Regions from separate parts of the Homo sapiens genome. Here region 1 is linked to region 2. Evidence: promoter capture Hi-C in human tissues and cell types (Jung and others, 2019). All regions are on one chromosome and are shown on one strand. Each heading gives the region's core, a stretch centred on a gene start or on the middle of the fragment in contact. The rest is flanking DNA. Distances are from core to core; before and after follow the strand shown. Region 1 overlaps ATXN10 (ataxin 10). Region 2 holds the start of UPK3A (uroplakin 3A).

What was found. Contacts are between HindIII fragments. The study calls those that stand out against the background at their distance.
Region 1: a contact is called between a fragment that was not itself captured here and the fragment with the promoter of UPK3A in region 2, in 1 of the 25 tissues and cell types used here (bladder).

The regions. Positions count from the first base shown.
Region 1 is chr22:45,686,204-45,689,283 of GRCh38, reverse strand. All of the region lies in intron 1 of ATXN10 (ataxin 10), which reads right to left. Among named protein-coding and RNA genes, the nearest start is that of ATXN10, 16 kb to the right of the region's middle. The HindIII fragment of the contact is 3,403 bases long and covers 38-3,080 here.
Region 2 is chr22:45,283,325-45,286,562 of GRCh38, reverse strand. UPK3A (uroplakin 3A) reads right to left here and starts at 1,614. Exons shown (of 6, transcript NM_006953.4): 1 at 1,498-1,614; 2 at 467-622. The coding sequence starts at 1,549. RefSeq lists a silencer at 1,484-1,793. The HindIII fragment of the contact is 20,192 bases long and covers 1-3,238 here.

The sequences.
Region 1 (3,080 bases), core at 490-2,989, 400 kb before region 2:
AATCAGAACAGAGTATCTTTATTTAATGTTCTAGACAGAGAATATATTCTGGTCCTCTGTCACCCAATATGTAGCTAAGTTCAGTTATAAGAAACAATATTCCTGTAGGACAAGGATACTATCTACTCTGTAGACACAGTGAGGCTGACAACACACACACCAAACTTCTACAGTCAACTACATAGATGGGAGAGAAAGGAGAGGGGGAGAATGTAAAGTGTGCCTGTTCTTCCACCAAGAATGTATGCCCAGGGAGAAAGATGAACCTGTGGTTGTACCCTCTGGGCATCTCAGTCTCTGCGTGCCTCTCATGCCAGGAGTACTGCCTGCACTGGCTATCATTCCAGAGCTCTAAAGATAAGAATTTTTTGTGCAACATTGCACCTAAATGCAAGCCAACTTCCTCATTCCATAAATCCCCTAAAGAAACAGCAAATCTCTTTTAACGTTAGAAGGAAAGTTGCCACATTGGACAATTTAAGAGATTCTATAAATGCCAAATGATTCAGACCATATGAATTTTCTCCTTCTGCTCTCGCTGTAGATTCACAGTGCCCTACCTTTCACCCTTGGATTGAGCCAGACCAGCAGGGAGCCACATGTTCATTCAGAACTCTGGACACTGAGCTGCCCAGGTTACAGAGCTGCTCAGTTGCCGCAGAAGACACCTATGGAAGCCCCTTTTCCGGGGGCAGAGGAAACACGTCTTTCCTTGAACTTCAGTACCATGGCTTCTTATACACCAAGTGATGTGTGTTTTTATCTTACGAACAGACAATAGAACTCACATTATTTATTATGTTTTCTCTCTGTCGGGGCCTTTCTTAAGTCTGGAGTCAAATTTATGACCCAAACAACATGAATCCTTACTTTTTCTATCTGGCTTTTCCACTACCCCTAATTTCCCCCCTTATCTTTTTCTCGTATTTATTTTTTAAGGTATCTCAAACTTGGTTTTGAAAGAGGCAGAGTATAAATTAATTAAAAACTGGGAAACTGCACATAAAATAATTTGTCTATGTCTCCCCCAGTCAGCCCTGAGTGTAAATAATGAAACTTTGACTCAGTGTCTCGGCAACTGAGTGACCAAATTAAGAAATGAAAATTCAAGGGTACAGCACTAATCTTGCCTCAATAAACTGTATGAAACAAGTACATAAGCCATTTTTTAGTGACAGCATTGCCGTAAGAAGAATGGAAGAATACTCACTAACACTCTTTTTTTTGAGACGGAGTTTTGCTCTGTCGCCCAGGCTGGAGTTGCAGTGGTGCAATCTTGGCTCACTGCAACCTCTGCCTCCTGGGTTCAAGCAATTCTTCTGCCTCAGCCTCCCGAGTAGCTGGGACTACAGGCACACGCCACCACGCCCGGCTAATTTTTGTATTTTTAGTAGAGACAGGGTTTCACCATTAGCCAGGCTGGTCTCGAACTCCCGATCTCGTGATCTGCCTACCTCGGCCTCCCAAAGTGCTGGGATTACAGGTGTGAGCCACTGCACCTGGCCGATTCACTAACATTCTTAAGGTAGCTTTAAGGAGTACCAAATATATTGTAGACACTCATCAGCTAAGAAAATAACCAGGAGTTTAAAACACTATGAAGAATGCTAAGGCTGATCACAATTTCTAGGACAAAGAACAAAACTAATCACCTCTATTTGCCCCATCTGCATGAAGTTTTGAAGCCATTTATTATTTAATGCTATAGTCAAGTAAAAGTAGAGCTCTGCAACTTGAATAAGCTTCAATAACGCCTCTCTTTTCCTACTGAGATGACTAAGAATGTGTATTTACAGCTGTAAGAAAGCAGCGAGAATTATTTCTTTCACCTGATCCTTTGCCGTCTGCCTCTTATATGGGAACCACCTTTCCCCCGTGAATGGTCTTCCCTGAAGTCATTCCTTGCAATCGTAACATCTGTTTTACTCAAAATTGGTATCTAGCACAGCAAAAGCTTTGGAATCAAACTATGGTACAGACTAAACAAGACAGAAGAAAAGCAATATTCTTAAAGAAAATGGGAAAAATGATTTCCCGACCATAGAATAAATACTAAGTTCATGAACTATGTTGTGAATAATTCCCAATGCTACATGGTAATTTGTTATATATGCACCATGCCCTTATAATAATTTTAACCAAATGAAAAGCATTTAACTGAGCTAAGGCCAACCAAAACATTCCTGAAATCCAAATAACTATTAATAGCGACTAAAGAGTAATCATGACAGCATCTATTTGGCACACAATAATTCGCGTTTGCAGTATAAAGAAAAAATAATGTGGAGCTGTGATCACTGTCATATGCTCTCCCCAGGTTGTAAACCATGGATTCCTGAAAACCCCCGATTTCGCCAATCTTCTGTCTTTGCTCAAACATATCTCACCACCAGAAGAAAGTCCTCTCCAAATCTCCCAATCCTCTGCCTGGGAGAAACTTACATCTCCTTTTTTTTTTTTTTTTTGAGATGGAGTCTTGCTCTGTTGCCCAGGCTGGAGTGCAGTAGCGTGATCTCAGCTCACTGCAACCTCCACCTCCTGGGTTCAAGTGATTCTTCTGCCTCAGCCTCCTGAGTAGCTGGGACTACAGGTGCATGCCACCACGCCCGGCTAATTTTTTTGTATTTTAGTAGAGACAGGGTTTCACCATTTTGGTCAGGCTGGTCTCGGTCTCCTGACCTCGTGATCTGCCCGCCTCGGCCTCCCAGAGTGTTGGGATTACATGCGTGAGCCACTGCGCCTGGCCTGCATCTCCTTTCAAACCTTTGGGAAACTCAGACCTGGAGAAACTCCTCCACTTTTCCAGACAAACAGACTCCCTCTATGAAGCCCTGGAGATCTGTTCATAAGACTGGAATAACTTGTCCACATCAGATAAGATTTATATAACCTATCTCCCCGGCTAGACTGTTAAGTCCTTGAAAAATGGAGACTATCTTATTCTTTTCTGTATCTCTAGGGCCCAGAATTGGCACCCATTAATTGAATTTGTTCAAGTTTTAAACAGTGATGAGACTGTTTGCACACTCAAAAGTGGCCCCTGACTGCATCACAGCCTTGCTATGTAATCCAAGCACTTA
Region 2 (3,238 bases), core at 365-2,864:
GGGGCTGGGCCACAGCAGCAGGTCCAAATGCATGGTTTTGTCTCAGAAACACCAATCTTGAGCCACCTTTCGAAGCCTCAGGAAGGACCTTGGGCTTGGGGACTAGAGAGATCAGGATTCACTCTCCAGCCCTGGGAGGTCCAGGGGGGGTTATTCCACCTCTCTGAGCCTTGCTTCCCTGCTCTGTAATGGGGATTGGTAATAGCTACCTTACAAGCTGGTTGTAGATACTAGCTCTATGGTGTGCAAAGTGCCTGGTATGGTGTAGGTGTTCAGTGACTGGTGGTGTTATTACTTCCCTCACTAACTGGATGTCCCTGCAAGGCAAGGACAGGTCTGTGGCTGCAGTACCTGTTTAATGAGACGACTACAGGCATGGAGGGTTCCTCTATCTGCCTCCTTCCCTCCTCCCTGCAGACAGGTCAGAGCCCCTTTTGGAGTAGCCAGAGGGAAGCAGGACCCTTACCTGAGTCGACCAGGACATACAGGTAGACCTCGTGGGTGCCAGTGAGGGCCTCTTTGCTGTCAAACATGCAGAGAGGCTTTTCCAAGGCCACAGTGGTAAGTGTGGGGTTGTTGGTGGCGAAAGTCACACTGGCCAGTTGGGGCTGCAGGTTCACAGCTGGAGGAGGCAGTGAGGATGGGAACTGACCTCCGGCAGAACTGTCCACACCCACTCTGCTTGCAGTTACTGAGCACGTGTTGTGTGCCAGGCCCTGGGCTTCACCCTCCCCCTGGGCCACCGCATAAGCTGTCTCAGACACTGCCCCCTGCCCAGTCATCCTGCTCAGAAATGGAGCGGTCGGGCCAAACTGCTGCCTTCTCTCCCTGCTGCAGACACTCAGTTGCCAAGAACTCCACTGCCCCTCCTAAGCATCTCTCCATGCCATCGGCCCAGCCCTCCTCCGTCCCACCTTCCTCACCTGGGCCCTCCCCCCACATGCAAGTCTGACTGCCTCATTCTCTGGCTATGGCCCTCCCATGGTCCCCCAGCGCCCCCTGACGAAGTCCAGCCTCTCTGGAAAGGCAGTGAGGTCCTGAAGTTCTGGGCTTTGCTTTGTTCGGTCTCCAGCCTCACCCCTTCCCCCACAGGCTCCCCTCACCCCAGGCTCCAGCTGGTCCCATGGACTGGCAGTTCCCAGGACAGCCCAATATTGTCTCCCCTCCATGAACTTGCCCATGCTGCTTCCTCGGCCGAAATATCTCTCTATCTGCCCCCGTCCAGGCGTCACCATGGGGCTGGGGCTAGTCCCTTCTCTGTCCTACCGCAGCCCCCCTGCATGTTGGTCTCTTGCAACACACATCGCAGGGCTGCAGCCATCTGTGAGCCCTCGGATTCCCAACAGAGGAGGCCCGTAAACGTTGGCTATCACTATTATTCATAACAGTAATATCTGGGTCCCCAGCGCCAGGAATCAGGGTCCAGGCGGCGGGCGCCCCAGGGCAGAGCTGCCCGCTCTTTCTGGGCTCAGCCCCCTCCTGCCCTTCACCGCCTACCCGAGCCGAACCGCAGGCAGCCGAGGGCCAGCAGGGCCCAGAGCGGAGGCATCGCCCGGGAGGAGCCGCCAGAGCGCGGGGCGGGCGGTCCAGCGAGCAGGCGCGGGCACCAGACCTGTCCCTGCCAGGGCACCTGCCAGCTCTGGGCCCTCGGCGCGCCCCGCCCCCGCCTGGGCTGGCCAATCCGCGGCCTCCTCGCGCGCTATTTGCATACGGCCCTGCCCCGGGCTTCCCCGACCCGTGCGCGGTGCCCCAGGGCGCAATCCCACCGGGCAGGACCTTCTCCAGCCCGCATCAAAGCGCCTACTGTGTGCCCAGGCCAGGGCAGCCCTTCCACAGCGTCTCTCACCAATGGGACCTTGAGGGCAAGCCACTCCCACTTGGAGCCTCAGTTTCCATACTGTAAAATGACGCTAATTTCTACAACTATTTATGGAGGCTCTATTACGTGCCAAACACTCACTGGGCACTCGCGAAACAAAATGGGTTGACCAGTAAAGGTGATATCCTGGAAAACGAAGTCCAGGCCTGGGAGCTATCCAGAGACCCTAGTATGACGCCTAGTATGACCCCTTCGGTTCACAGGTACAAGCCAAGGCCCGGGAGGCTGGGGGGTGGGGCAGGGGGTAAGTATTGGAGCGTGGTGGGGGGCGCGGGGACAGGGACTCACCCCCGGCCGCGCTTGGTCTCCTGGAGACACTGAGGCTGGTGGAACCCAGGAGTCCAGTGCTCAGCCCAGGGCTGCCTCCAAAGGGATGGAGCAGGGTGTTAATGCCTACTTCTTAAAGGGGCGTTTGAAAATTATGATGGACTCCTCACCATGACTGTGCGGTTCCCTCCATCACAAGAATCTGTGCACATCTCTGGATGCACCTTAAATCAATTTTACATTTAAGAAATAAAAGTAAGTCAACAAGGATAGGAAAAAAACAACAGAAGAGGGGCAAGGAGGCTCATGCCTGTAATCCCAACACTTTGGGAGGTCAAGATAGGAGGATCCCTTGAGGCCAGGAGCTAGAGACCATCCTGGGCATCATAGTGAGACCCCATCTCTACCAAAAAAAAAAAAAAAAAAATTAGCTCAGCCTAGTGGGGCATGCCTGTAGTCCCAGGATTGCTTGAGCCCAGGAGGTCGAGGCTACAGTGAACTATGATCATGCCACTTTGAGCTATGATTAAAGCTGCAATAACAGAGCCAGACCCTGTCTCTTAGAAAAAAGATAAAGAAAATCAACAGAAACTAATTAATCTCTGTATGACGTTGATGACATAACCTCACTTGCAGAAAAAGAATAAAACGATCTGAGTAATTATAGAGCTGGGTTGTCCAGGGGTACCTCCTTAGTGGAGTACACTCTAAGAACTGGGAGGCCTGTGACAGAACCCCAAACCTCACTAGTGACTTTGTTATTGGCAGTGGGGAGGGCGGAGCCATTCCGAAGCAACTTTGGGTTATCCTAGGATTGGTGGTACCAGAACCCAGATTCTCACTGTAGGATGAGGGAGATTTGGAATGGAGGAAGGAAGCACATGAGGTCAGTGTGTCCCATTATTGGGGATGTTCCATTTCATCATTTGGTAAAGTTGGTATCTCTGGATTAATGTATGTCTTGTTCCCTAAAAATCTTTTTTTTCTTTTTTTTTTTGGGGGGGACGGAGTCTTGCTCTGTCACCCAGGCTGGAGTGCAGTGGCGTGATCTCGGCTCACTGCAAGCTCCACTTCCCACGTTCACGCCATTCT